3 separate regions of the Homo sapiens genome follow, and regions 1 and 2 are each linked to region 3. Evidence: promoter capture Hi-C in human tissues and cell types (Jung and others, 2019). All regions are on one chromosome and are shown on one strand. Each heading gives the region's core, a stretch centred on a gene start or on the middle of the fragment in contact. The rest is flanking DNA. Distances are from core to core; before and after follow the strand shown.

Region 1 (4,779 bases), core at 1,926-4,425, 150 kb after region 3:
GATACAAATCTCTAGTTCCTAGAGTCTGTTTATTGGTGCAGGAAGGAGGGGCAGTTGGGGTGGGGAGTAGGTTTGGCATGAACACTTTGGTCAAAGGTAACCTCCCATTTCCTTGGTTCAGCAAACCTAACAATATCATAAACTAACCTGTGAAAAGGATAGTTTTCCCACTTTTTTTCAGCAACTTTCAATTTTTCCTTCTGATACCTTCATTTATATGAAGGTTACATTTTTCCAAAAGCACAGGACCATAGCCTCTCTATCTTACCATCTTTTCACAGTTATCATTAGTCAGTGAGTAAATATGTATTGAGTGTATCACTATTAAAAATAAATATATTAAGCAGTAAAGCTCAAAAAAAGAAAAAAGAAAAGAATCCCCCAATAAGTTCCCATTATATTCCATTTAAACGTTTTTTAAACTCAAGAACAAAACAAACACTGGGAGTTAAAAAATATTCCCCAGGCCAAGGTAACCTAATAAATTAGACTGGATTGATTTTTATTTGAATCCTTTCATTAGTCACTTATAAAAACTTTATTGAGCTATACAGTTTCTGAGAATTACATTTTCTCATATATTCTAAAATTCATTTTGATAATTATTGGGAGAGGGGAGAGGGCCACAAATGGAATGGACAAGGCAAATGTGGCATAACTTAGCAACTGGTAAATCTAGGTTCATAACATATCACTGTTCATTCTATTTTTTTTTCCTAACTTGACATATGGGTTTGAACATTTTCAAAATTTCAGGGGCTCAACATAGACTTTCCACATTAACCAGATTTAGAAGGGAATGGGAAAACAAAAGCAAACAAAAACACAAAAGCAGAAAGGGCTAAGAACAGTTCATCAATCTTTCCTTAACTAGAATTGTCCTGGGCATGAGAACCTCTAGCCTAGTCAATGGTACAACTCTCTGAAAATTATGTTGCAGTTTAGGCCTATTGCCCATGTTGTGTATAAAAATGAAACAATGAAACCACAAAACTTAAAGAACATTTTTGTTACACTGGGGAAATCTGAATATAGACTGTATATTAGATAATATTATTGTATCAGTGATTAATATTTTCATTTGTAATAACAGTATTGTAGTTATATAGGAGAATGTTCATGTCCTTAGGAGAGAAATGCTAAAATATGATATCTGCCATTTACTTTCAAATGATTTAGGAGAGTGTGTGTGTGTGTGTGCGTGCACATGTGCCTATATATGTGTCTATGTGTGTGTTTAGAGAGAGAAAAAACAGTAAAATGTTAAAAATACGAGGATTTAGGTAAATGGTATATGGCAATTTATTGTATTATTCATACAGCTATTCGGTAAGTTTAACAGTTTTCAAAATAAAAGTTGGGGTAAAAGTTCCAAAAAATAAAATTCACCTTAAGACTAATGGGTAATTCTGTAAATGGAAATGTAAATTTTGAACAATTATAGCACTGTATGAACTACCAGGAAGGTTTTAGTGTATTAAAAAATACTACATGGAAATGTATTTAAATTATTTTTCTTCTTTTTCTTTCTTCAATACAGCCTAGCAATTATTGGTTTGAGGGGGACAGGGAATGATCAAAACCAAAACTAACCAATTTAACTAAATCAAAATCTTTAAATATTACAGCTGAAAAGCTCTTGGCAATCATTTATTCCAACCCATATATATATATACACAAAATTGAGAATGAAAGGAATAAAGCAATTTGCCCAAAGTCATACATATGCAAACAATATTGGGACAAGAACCCAGGCTTCCTTTTGCCCGATTTAGAGGTCTTTCCACTCTTCTACAAATTATTTTTTAAATAATCAATAGCTCCAATCCAATAACTTTGCAAACTAGTTTGCTTCTAAAGCTATAGTCTCACTTCCAATAAGCTGCATTTCTCCAGACCATGTAATAATGTTCGATTAAATTAAATTTATATTCATACTGAAAAATTCAACAGAATTCAATAAAACACTATTATTTTTGCGCAAAAAAAACACCAAGTTTCAAAATAAGTAACAGACTCTAAGTATCTGAATGAATCTCTCCATAGGAAGCAGATAGCTTGGCTGATGCAGAGGAAAGGTGTGAGCAACTGATTAAAAACAAAATCCAACTTGAGGCCAAAATCAAAGAGGTGACTGAAAGAGCTGAGGAGGAGGAAGAGATCAATGCTGAGCTGACAGCCAAGAAGAGAAAACTGGAGGATGAATGTTCAGAACTCAAGAAAGACATTGATGACCTTGAGCTGACACTGGCCAAGGTTGAGAAGGAGAAACATGCCACGGAGAACAAGGTATCAGTCATATTTTACAATACTGTATAGAGGTTCTGCCACCAACTAAATTGCTTTATAGGAGAAATAATCTCTTTCTTAACCTTTGTAGGTGAAAAATCTTACAGAAGAGATGGCAGGCCTGGATGAAACCATTGCAAAACTGTCCAAGGAGAAGAAGGCTCTCCAAGAGACCCACCAGCAGACCCTGGATGACCTGCAGGCAGAGGAGGACAAAGTCAACATCCTGACCAAAGCTAAAACCAAGCTAGAACAGCAAGTGGATGATGTAAGCACATTTTAAATATCCCTTTGAAAGATTTTTTTAAAAATATATACTTTCAATTTTTACCATATTTACTTTCTTATTAGCTTGAAGGGTCTCTGGAACAAGAAAAGAAGCTTCGAATGGATCTAGAAAGAGCAAAGCGGAAACTGGAGGGTGACCTCAAATTGGCCCAAGAATCCACAATGGATATGGAAAATGACAAACAGCAACTTGATGAAAAGCTTGAAAAGTAGGAGCCTTTTAGAAAAAAACTTCTATGTGATATCATCTTTCAATTCACATGAGTATTAATACGTCTTGCTCTTCTGTCTAAAGGAAAGAATTTGAAATCAGCAATTTGATAAGCAAAATTGAAGATGAGCAAGCTGTAGAAATTCAACTACAGAAGAAGATCAAAGAGTTGCAGGTGAGTCATCTCACCTCTATTTTTTCTGCACACCAAAAAAACACTGAAGTTGAGATGAGTTTATGTTTATGTGCTTCTTTCATTCCCAGGCCCGCATTGAGGAGCTGGGGGAAGAAATCGAGGCAGAGAGGGCGTCCCGAGCCAAAGCGGAGAAGCAGCGCTCTGACCTCTCCCGGGAACTGGAGGAGATCAGCGAGAGGCTGGAAGAAGCCGGTGGGGCAACTTCTGCTCAGGTGGAATTGAACAAGAAGCGGGAGGCTGAGTTTCAGAAACTGCGCAGGGACCTGGAGGAGGCCACCCTGCAGCATGAAGCTATGGTGGCTGCTCTTCGGAAGAAGCACGCAGACAGTATGGCTGAGCTTGGGGAGCAGATTGACAACTTGCAGCGGGTCAAACAGAAGCTGGAGAAGGAGAAGAGTGAGCTGAAGATGGAGACTGATGACCTCAGCAGTAACGCAGAGGCCATTTCCAAAGCCAAGGTACCCAATACTGTCTCTAAATGAAGGTAATCATCTGTAAGAACACCCATTATTCTCTATCACTAAACATTGTTTGCAGGCATTTTACAGCACTACTCAAATATTTTCTAACCAAATATATCCCATTCTATGGTATTTTTTAAAATGCTGGTTATGATCGATTAAGATGATTTTTTTTTGGAGCGGGGGGATGGAGTCTCACTCTGTCGCCCAGGCTGAAGTGCAGTGGCGCAATCTCGGCTCACTGCAAGCTCCGCCTCCCGGGTTCACGCCACTCTCCTGCCTCAGCCTCCCCAGTAGCTGGGACTACAGGCGCCCGCCAGCACGCCTAGCTAATTTTTTGTATTTTTAGTAGAGACGGGGTTTCACCGTGTTAGCCAGGATGCTCTCGATCTCCTAACCTCATGATCCGCCCGCCTCGGCCTCCCAAAGTGCTGGGATTACAGGCATGAGCCACCGCGCCCGGCCTATTAAGATGATTTCAAAATCCACTTTAAGCAAGCGTCAATATCATTGGAATAAATGGTCTCCAACAATGACCAGTTTAGGCACACTATGCACTCGCCATGCCTAAATTCTTGCATGTTCCACAGAGTTGATGTCCTAACTTTCTACTCACACTTGACATGAATTTATTTACTCTACAAATATTTTAAGAATCAAGTTTTAACCTTTTTATTGCATTCAATGTCTCATCTTTCATTGCTACATATCCTGTAGGGAAACCTTGAAAAGATGTGCCGCTCTCTAGAAGATCAAGTGAGTGAGCTTAAGACCAAGGAAGAGGAGCAGCAGCGGCTGATCAATGACCTCACAGCACAGAGAGCGCGCCTGCAGACAGAAGCGGGTAAAGACATCTTCTCTGGGTCCCAACACCATGGACTAAATAAAATGGATTCTAGGGGTTCTAATAAATAGCAATATTCCCACTTTAGAGAAAGATAAACAAATGATCAGAGTTTGCTAAGAAGGTCAAAAAGGAAAGAAGTCAAGACTGAGCAGACAAGTTTACTTACAACACTTCTATGGCAATGCTGCTTTTAAATCTCCGGTTCTAACCAGTGCTAAAAAAATACTTAGAAGCAGATGAAGTGTAGATTAAACACATCACACACAAACAGACACACACACACACACACAGGTTGAGTATCCCTAATCTGAAAATCAAAAATCTGAAATGCTCCAAAATTCAAAACTGAGGGCTGACATGATGTCCAAAGGAAATGCTCACTGCAGCATTTCAGATTTTAGATTTTCGGATTAGGGATGCTGAACTGGCAAGTGTAATGCAAATATTCTAAAATCAAACAAAAATCTGAAATCTGAAACACTTCTGG
Region 2 (4,874 bases), core at 84-2,583, 180 kb after region 3:
TTATATACAATTTAAACAGATCACACTGTATTGCAGTAAATGGCTCTAACTTCTACATATACAGTTGTTCCTACATAGTCAAACATCACTTATATTTTAGCAAAAAATAAAAAAACTCCTAAGTAACTATAATTGTCACAAAGTCCACGTATTTTCATTAGAACCCACTAGAGCTGCACTCAGAACTTATTTACTCTTACTTTAGCCTGATCTTAATTTTGTAATCTCTTTCCCAATCAATAATACAAAATCAGGCTAGTAAAGACAAACTTACCACAGAAAGAAATTATACCTGAGAGGCTGGCCATGAAGGCAAAGACAGAAAATCTAAAAAGTAAGGCCAAGTGTGGTGGCTCACACTTGTAATCCCAGCATTTTGGGAGGCCGAGGCGGGAGGATCACTTGAGGTCAGGAGTTCGAAACCACCCTGGCCAACATGGTGAAACCCTGTCTCTACTAAAAATATAAAAATTAGCTGGGCGATTATAGCACATGCCTATATATAACACATGGGATTATAGCACATGCCTATAATCCCAACTACTTGGGAGGCTGAGACAAGAGAATTGCTTGAACCTGGGAAATGGAGTTTGCAGCGAACCAAGATCACGCCACTGCACTCCAGCCTAGAGGAGAGAGCAAGACTCTGTTTCGATAATAATAATAATAATAAATAAAAGTATACACCAAAATTCACAGCAGGAACAATTAGTGCAGGCATGATCCACTAAGAACCAGATCCTTGATGACTTTATTATATCATCTCCCAGACCCCCAGAGTGATCAAGAAAAACTTAAATTCTATTCAAGATAGTAGGTTACACAGAGCAGGATAATGTAAAATACATTTTGGAAAGCTTTTCTTCCAGTAGATTTTTAAACAAACAAATACATAAATAAGACTGGATGTGTTAAAAGGTCAACCTTAAATTTCCAGAGATTTCTGAGATGAGAAGCACACCATCCCATACCAATGCTGGGTAAATGAGGTGTAGTTACTGTCCACACTACTGATCACCCATTGCTTGACAAAGCATCCTGTGGTTCTGCCCTTCAGTGACCTTCTTAGCACACTCTGCTCCAGTTCCACTCAGCCCCTAGGACTCTCTAAGTCTCAAAGATCTGTGTCCAACGTCAAAATCCCTATGCAGCTGACTTGGCATTATGCAGCCTCCACTGGTCATTTATCCAAGTAACTTAACAAGAGTGAGAGATCAGGGCTACGACGCATTTACATCTAACAAGTAAATGGTGCTCCCCCAAATATAGCCAAGTTAGAGTGCTGGGCTGGCAGATTTGGGAGTATAAAGAGAGCTGGGGGGTCACACTCCTGAAATTGCTGTGACCGCAGCATCTCTAGGTAAGTGCTCACAAGTGCTCACTTTTTTGCTCCACGTAGCTATAGTTGCACCTGATCAGGTTACCAGTCAAGGGGGGAAGACAATAAAGTAGCCTTTACGGAGGGCCTACTAAGTGCAAGGTCTTGTGTTGAGGGCAAGGTTGGAGACAAGATGGAAAGACAAGACAACTGCCTTTCAAGAAACTTTTACAAGGGGTGAAAAGACAAGAATATAAGCAATTATAAGACAAAAAATATTCACCTGCAGAACAAAACTGAGTATAATGCATGATTCCTCCTCTGATTATTTAGGTCAATGTTATACTGTTCAGTTAGCAAATTAACTTGGTAACTTGTGGTATCTCTTCTGTGATTGCTTAAGCTATTATTTGAAATTTTTATGTTTATTTAATTTGTTTCCCATGTCAGGATTTCTGAAAAATGGTTGTGGGAGGAAATAATCCCAAGCATCTTACCCATCTTACAAAGTGTCATAGTCTGATATGAATTGACTGGTTTGCAGACTGTTCTCACATGGCATATTTTATGGACTTGGGACTGGACTGTGTCTGACAGTGCAATAGCATCCCTCAGAGATTTGTGATACTTTGAATTCAGGCCACCATCTCTACGGAGAACTGTCTGTTATAGACTCATAGGGCTGAAAGGAATCTTGGAGATTTTCTGGTGCATCTGATTCATTTTACGGAAGGAAACAGAAACCCAAAGAAATCATACCAGCTACTTAACAGAACTGATATTAGAATTTCTGTAGCTCTGCCTCCATATTTTTTTAAATTGAGGATTCAGAATATAGTATGTAATACTTTAATTTTTTAAGAAATTGTGAGAATTTTAGGATATAACTGGAGATTATTTAAGATGCATTAAAGACGGAGAAGGAAGGAGGCAACAAGGATAGTAAACCAAATCCTAAGTGTCTGTTCCTGCCTAAATAGGGCTTCATGAAATATTCCCCTGGCTCCATAAAAGCACTGAATGGTAATTGGGAAGTTTGCTTAGATTACATTTGATATTGAAAATTTTTCAGACACTCATGCCTCCTTGAGATAGCCACGTAGTTTATAAACTCCTAGAGCTGAGATTCCTTAGTCCCAGGTGACTTTTCAGCTGCCCTACCTTCATCATCTGCAGGAGGAATTTAGAGCATTGAAGAGAATAAAGAAGTCTTTGTCCACAATTTATAACTTTTCTCCTATTGCCAAAAAAAGGTGACTGCCCCTAAGCATCCAAGCTGCAATCTGGAGCATTCCCCTCCCTACTTTCTTTCTTCCCTGACCCCTCACAGCCCCCCAGTCAGAAGCGGTTTCTCTAAGTTCCCATAGTACTTTGTTTAGACTCCTTAAAAATTTGTCTTAATCCTGTTCAAAGACTTACTTGAGCATTCTCTTATCCCTTACTAACTTTTGCATTCCTATAGGGCAGATACTGTACTTTCCTCTTCATACCCCCTTAAGGAGCTGACACAGTACATTGTACACACAGAAGTTTCTCAAGAGAGTATTAATTAAATGTTGTAATTAACCAACTATTTAAAGAATAATGATTTTAATCAAAAGTAAAAATTCAAAACAGCAAATTTATTTCATTCCACACCATCTACTGTGTATCTATTTAAGGTAGATAAACTGGAACAAACATGGTTTCTATATTTATTTAAACTCTTTGTAGCTCATTTGGGTTTTTTTGGTTTGTTTTTTTTTCTCAAATTATCCCCAGGAAGACGCTTTATTCCTGAAGGACACTGACTGTCACTTGGGAACCAAGAAGGTAAGGGTTATTTTCAGCTTGATCATGAATGCAATCATTGAAATTAGCAAACATCATTTTACACGTTCTCATTCTTGCCACACTCATAAGAAGACGAAATTGATGAGTTTGAAACCAATAACTTAACTATTCTTAAAGGTAGATTTTAAAATATATACAGGTTTTACCAAAGGAAGAATGGCTTCTCCTATTTGCTCATTACACTGAAATGTACGAAATATAATGCAGAATTTTGACATACAAGCTCCAAGTCAATACACAGTACTTAGTTGGCACAGAACATGATGTTCATAGGGTCCAAATGCAGTCTTCACACAAAGGCTAACTTTGCTGCTCCTTGAGCAGAGTCTGCACCCATGAATCCACACAGCTGCACCTTCCCTCACGTGTAATACTGAAGGAATGGGGAGGGATCCGTTCAATCCTATGCCCGGTGCGGTAATAAAAACCCTATCCCCTTAAAACGTGTGTTTATTAGAGGTAGTTCTAGATGAATTGGGACCAAAAAAGCCAAGCTGTCATTGAATCATGAGCACATCATTGCTGACAAGACACAGTAGCGGTGAAATTCCCAGGAGAGGGATGAAAGTTGAGAGTAGTGTCATGGTACACAGAGGGTAAACAGAGAGAGAGGAGCCCTCACAAGTGGGTGATGGAGATTAGGCAGGCGGGGGTAGTCATCTCAATTAGAAGGCCCTTAAAGACAGGAACAGAGTGGTTGAAGGGGCACAGCTATGCAACGTTGGAAGCAGGTCCTGCTCTTGGAACAGAGAAGAGGCTAATTAAGGAAACTCTAGAGGGTGGTGCTCAGTGGGCAGCATGAGTCATGCCTAGAGACTTGGGTCAGATCTAACAAGGTGAAGTTTATCAGTCAAAAATGAATGGTCTTCCCCTGGGTCCCAACTCACAGTTGCACAAATATAGGGAGAAGATCTGACTTAGCAACTGCATGCACGGAGAGGATTGAGGGGCTTTGCTCGACACGGAGTGGTGCGTCAGCAGTGTGAGACGTGGCTGCCAACAGGCAATCACCACCTCAAGCATGACACCTAGGTCAAGAGAGGTGAGGGCACACTCCAGTGGAGGGTGACATGTGGTTTGGATATCACACTTTAAAAGATTAACAGGAGTGGGTTCAGGGAAGAGTGACTGAGATGGTAAGGGATTCAAAAGCACATCATAGAAGAACCAGTGGAAGTTGAGGCTATTTAGCATGGAGAAGATAAAGCTAAGCAGAACACAGAACAGCCATCAAAAGGGTGAAGAGTTGTCACGTAGGAAGGTTTGAACTCTTTCTGCTGTTCAAATGGAGAACAAATGGAGAGCCAGATTTTAATTTAAAGCAAGAAGAATCTTTGGCCTATCAAAGGGAAAAGAGTTGTGCCTAAAAGTATCCAACTAGGTTAGATGCACCATTGCAGGAATATGGAGGGATAACTCAAACATCATCTAGGTAATACTACTAGGAGATACTGGGTTCTGAGTCACGGTTAGAGTAAATGAAGGGAGAAAAAATCTCTACTTGAAAACTGTCAGTGAGGCCCACAGGGAAAAGCCTTGTTTTTCCAGGAGGACTAAAAATATGGCTCAACTATCAGCTATGGCAGCCTTTCCCTGACTTCAGACTTTATTCTCCTATTGCCATCACAAGTTTTGCAATAGCCATGTTAACACCAATACTGTCAATTTACTTAATATTTGTATTTACATTGATTCATTTTCTTTTCTTATTTGTTTTTAAAGT
Region 3 (4,868 bases), core at 655-3,154:
GAAAATGCCCATTGGCAGCAGAGATGGAACAAGAGAATATTAAACTATTGCTGTGGGCACTAAAAATGGCTGTTTAGTTTGGAAAAACAGCTCAACAGCTCACCTTAAAACAGAGCTTCCCAACCAGTGTATCTTGGCATCAAAAAGGTAACTGATGTGCCATAAAATGTTGATCTCTTCAGTCTCAGAATGGCTGGATGGGGAGGGGGACCTTGGGAGGTGGCTCCTAGCTGGGAGAAGGCTGACTAAGGGTTCCTCAGAGTGTTGACTGGGCTGCATTCGAGTCTGACAGCATAACCTATGATTCCTACAGGAGGCAAGCACAATGGTGGTATTTGCCATGTGCTGGATGGAACCAAGAAGGACTTCAGCAGCCAGCTGAGAATGTAATGCTGTCTTCTGCAGTCAAGAGACCCCTGGAATTGCTGGGAGGGTTGGTGTTCCAGGATGCCTGGGACAAGGCATGCAGCCCAGAGAGCATCCAGCCAGAGTAAAGGTGCCAGAAGGCTAAGTAGGTTGTACTGGAAGAGGTAGCCCACAGTAATAGCTCCAAACCTTAGACTTTGAATAGATCAGGTACTTGTGTGTATTTGTGACTGGTGTGCCCTTTGACCAATGCTGATGACTCCTTTAACCCATGAAGTTTTTGAAGATTAGAGCTTCATTATCCTTTGAAATATTTGATATGAAAGAGAGAGTTTAAATGGATTAAAAACTTATTTTCACTGTACGAGAATATTCAACATTATATTTTTCAATGAAGGAGAAAGAAGAACTGGTGAATTTTTAAAATACTCCAACAGTTGTAAATTACTTGGTTTTCCATTTTCATCCCTCCTTCTTGGACAAAAATCCCCGCTATGGTAATTATCAAGAACACAGATACTGTTTGTATCATTTTTGAAAATTTGATCTGGAAATTTGTGTCATATTTCAAGAATAAAGTCAGAAACAAACAAGTTTTATTTGTAGGATATAGCTCAAATTTTTCCTTAGGATTTTCAAGAAGATATTATTTGTAAGTTTCCGACATATTCAGTATTTAATATTTTCCTTAATGCTATGTGTATCATAGTTATTATATTTATATTACATAAAGGAATGTAAAAAAATTAAAAATATTCTCCCCAAGCCCTTTACAGATATAGACAAATCCCTTCCACATTACTCTAGCATGCTACACTAATATTGTCATTTTTTTCTCAGCGGGCTATGACACGAAAAAATGTTGAAAAGTACTCTCTAAAAACACCTCTGCTACTAGAAAATATTCAACCTTTTTTATTTCAGGCAAGTCAAATGGGTAGGGGGACAGGAAATGGTGTGCTAAGTAGAGGGAACAACTTTGGCAAAAGCAAAAAGGTGAGCGAGCAAGGAAATTCCTGAAACTACAGGAATATTGGAATAACAGAGAGGACCTTCTGTCTCTTTAAGTTGTTGAAGGCACATCGCTTAATTTTGCAGGGCTGGAAAGAAAGGACCAACAGGTAAAAATTAACTGTCACAAAATTAAAATACATATTTGTATTTTATTTATGTGACTTAACACGTGAAATATGCGAAAGTGATGCGAGGCAAGCCCGAATGCTGTGCCCAGCAAAGCCAAAAAGAAGTTCCGAGGGAAGCCAGGTATCCTGGCTGCCCAGCCACTGCCTTTATCCACCAGCTTGACTCTTTCAGATCATCTTCTCAAATTATCCATAGGAGATTTATCCACATACTCAATAAGAAAAATATTTCTAATTATATCCAACCATTCTTAATATGAATGAGAATTATGCGGGGACGCTAGATTGCCAAGAGGTATTTTGCCAAACAATTCCTTTTGACTTAAGAAAGAAGAGGCAGCTGCATTGTTTCCATAGCTATCCATATAAAAGAGCCCTTGGAATGAGGCTGACTCGTCCTGCTTTAAAAAGCTCCAAGGTAAGTGGGAGCAGGACGGGCCTTTCAAGAGGGACACTGGTCACACCGCCCAGTGTCAGCAGCAGCTGCTAGTTCTGGTACTGCTCCTTCTGGAACTGCACGTTTTACCTCTATGAATTTTGTTACTTCTGTTTACAATAGCAAGCCATGCCATAAATGGGATTTTTTCCCCCTCTTTTTGGTCAACTAATCAAGTGCTTTTCCCTTTTCTTTTATAGAACTGTCTCACTCCCAGGCTACATCTTCTCACTTGCTAACAAGGTAAGATTTGGACTAACCAGTTCCTGGAGGAGAATGCAAGAGGCTCTGGGATGGATTTCTGTCACTTAGCAACCTTTCAGAAAGTGCTTGTCTCAGTAAATACCCTTTAACAACTGTGCTTCAGGAAAGCGGTGAGAAAGGGAGGACTGTCCTTTCAGGACAATGCACACATCCTCATTTACGGCTCAAGCATTGGTGGGGTGACATTTGAGCAGGGGAATCGCTTTGAATAAATATATTGTCTGTGCAGGAAAAAAAGAGTCTACCCTCAGATTCCCTGGCTAAAAATCTCAAATTTGATAAAAATGTATCCTGCTGTTAGAATTCATTTAGTAAACATAATGTCCAACAATGTAAAATGGAAGTAAGACAATCCTTTCTTTAAACTTCTTAAAGCCCTTGTAAAAAGTCACCTTACACAATGCCGAGTGCTGTGGCATTTTTCTTATATATAATAGAGGTATTAATCTGCCCTCCCACTACTTACTGCATTTCTAAAGGGAGAGACTAGAAGAGACGATTCAAATGAGTTTCAAGTAATTTGATCATGTAATGACTGCGGTAGAATTATTTGCCAAACCTTTCATTCTACTGATACCACTGGCAACCTACAGATCACATAGAACGGAGCAAACAGGGCCTGCATGCTTCAAAGGAAAATTTGGAATAGTAAAGGGAGCCCTTAGATGTAGAAGAATGAGGTTAACGTTGGCTACTGTTTTTATCCCTAATTAGTTTAAGGGGGTTAAACTGATGAACTGTATTTAATATGCAAAAAATTATGTCAGAGAAACTATACTAAGCACCTAACCTAAAAGAAAAAAAGGTAAACAAAATTATAATCTCCAATAAGCCACTGAACTTCAACAAATCTGGCTGAACAGGTAAAGGAGGAAATAAAGTTCTTCTACATTACATTCAAGACATGGAATTTTGTGACATGATAATTCATGACATCTCATATATAAATGGTGGCCTGAACAATTTCAAATTACTTTCTCAGTCATCATTTAAACCTCTTTTTCAAAGTATCTTCACATATATCATGGGCTGTGAATTTAGAAAGGCAGAATTTATAATCCCTATTCTAAAGATGGAGTCACTTAGGCTCAAAAACATCAAGTGACATACCCAAGGTCACAAGCTACTTGACAGCAGCACTGGACTGTAATTCAGTTCCCAATGAGAATGTGAGTCCTGGAGGATGAAATAAGACAGTGGATGCAAAGCCCTAAATACGGCATTGGGTACACAGAGACCACCTGATGCATTTTCGTTCTTGTGATTATGTTTGTCTCAGTAACTATAGTATGGTGAACAGTAGACCTGTCTAGTGGAATTTCCAACTGGGCCTATGAAATACAATAAATATTAAGATTTATTGGTATACATGGCAATCCAGACTCTCTAATGTGAAAGTTTTATCTCCTTTAGGACCTCTGAGTTCAGCAGCCATGAGTTCAGACTCAGAATTGGCTGTTTTTGGGGAGGCTGCTCCTTTCCTCCGAAAGTCTGAAAGGGAGCGCATTGAGGCCCAGAATAGGCCCTTTGATGCCAAAACATCTGTCTTTGTGGCGGAGCCCAAAGAATCCTTTGTCAAAGGGACCATCCAGAGCAGAGAAGGAGGAAAAGTGACGGTGAAGACTGAGGGAGGAGCGGTGAGTAGAATCCCAGGAGCTTGCCACATTTTATTGATTTTTGTTGTTGTTGTTTGGTCACTCAATTAATGTAAACGGTTATCTTTCCTGTTTACCAGACTCTGACAGTGAAGGATGATCAGGTCTTCCCCATGAACCCTCCCAAATATGACAAGATCGAGGATATGGCCATGATGACTCATCTGCATGAGCCTGCTGTGCTGTACAACCTCAAAGAACGTTATGCAGCCTGGATGATCTACGTGAGTGTCCCCTGCCAGTGCTCTGTATAATCATCCTCATGTACCCTACCATCCTGCTTCTTCCACTGAGCATAAATAGGTCACAGGTAGTGACCCATTTCACTTTCATTGCAGCATAACTAGTTAAAAGGCTTCATGATTGCTATCGTAAAGCACAGCTCAACAGCCAGCACTTCCTTGTTTTCCCATCCAAAGCTGGGGAAGGCCGCTGTCCATGTTGACTAGGTTTGCCCAGAAACCCTTCAATAGGCATTTGAGCAGTTACTACTTATATTTCAATCACAGGTAATTTTCCCCATTCCTTTTCCCCACTCCAGCCGCAGAATCATCCAGAGTGAAAAGATAAACATGTTTTAACACTTTAAACTATTTTAATTTTTTTTTGAGACAGAGTCTTGCTCTGTGTCCCAGGCTGGAGTGCAGTGGTGCGATCTCGGCTCACTGCAACCTCTGCCTCGTGGGTTCAAGCGATTCTTGTGCCTCAGCCTCCAGAGTAGCTGGGATTACAGGCATGTGCCACCATGCCCGGCTATTTTTTTTTTTTTCGTATTTTTTTTAGCAGAGACAGAGTTTCACTATGTTGCCCAGACTGGTCTCGAACTCCTGGGCTCAAATGATCCGCCTGCCTTGGCCTCCCAAAGTGCTGGGATTACAGGCATAAGCCATCATGCCTGGCCTACATTTTTTTTTTTTTTAAAAACAAATTTCACTCATTTTCAATCCCCTGAAATAACAGCAATTTGTATCTGTGTGTTCTGGTCCCTTCTATCTGGAATGTCAC

Evidence for each region. The method cuts DNA at HindIII sites, captures the fragments that hold promoters and counts their contacts. A contact is called where the count stands out against the background at its distance.
Region 1: a fragment that was not itself captured here is called in contact with the fragment with the promoter of MYH2 in region 3 in 2 of the 25 tissues and cell types used here (liver and mesendoderm cells).
Region 2: a contact is called between the fragment with the promoter of MYH13 here and the fragment with the promoter of MYH2 in region 3, in 4 of the 25 tissues and cell types used here (hippocampus, mesendoderm cells, pancreas and 1 more).

What each region holds. Positions count from the first base shown.
Region 1 is chr17:10,399,053-10,403,831 of GRCh38, reverse strand. It overlaps MYH8 (myosin heavy chain 8), which reads left to right. Exons shown (of 40, transcript NM_002472.3): 23 at 2,047-2,289; 24 at 2,381-2,557; 25 at 2,641-2,786; 26 at 2,873-2,963; 27 at 3,053-3,442; 28 at 4,163-4,289. All of the region lies in intron 1 of MYHAS (myosin heavy chain gene cluster antisense RNA), which reads right to left. Among named protein-coding and RNA genes, the nearest start is that of MYHAS, 18 kb to the right of the region's middle. RefSeq lists an enhancer at 2,124-3,323. The HindIII fragment of the contact is 4,137 bases long and covers 1,107-4,779 here.
Region 2 is chr17:10,369,465-10,374,338 of GRCh38, reverse strand. It overlaps MYH13 (myosin heavy chain 13), which reads left to right and starts at 1,333. Exons shown (of 41, transcript NM_003802.3): 1 at 1,333-1,360; 2 at 3,080-3,130. The HindIII fragment of the contact is 16,892 bases long and covers 1-4,874 here.
Region 3 is chr17:10,546,694-10,551,561 of GRCh38, reverse strand. It overlaps MYH2 (myosin heavy chain 2), which reads left to right and starts at 1,904. Exons shown (of 40, transcript NM_017534.6): 1 at 1,904-1,926; 2 at 2,145-2,187; 3 at 3,622-3,845; 4 at 3,944-4,087. The coding sequence starts at 3,642. All of the region lies in intron 2 of MYHAS (myosin heavy chain gene cluster antisense RNA), which reads right to left. The HindIII fragment of the contact is 30,725 bases long and covers 1-4,868 here.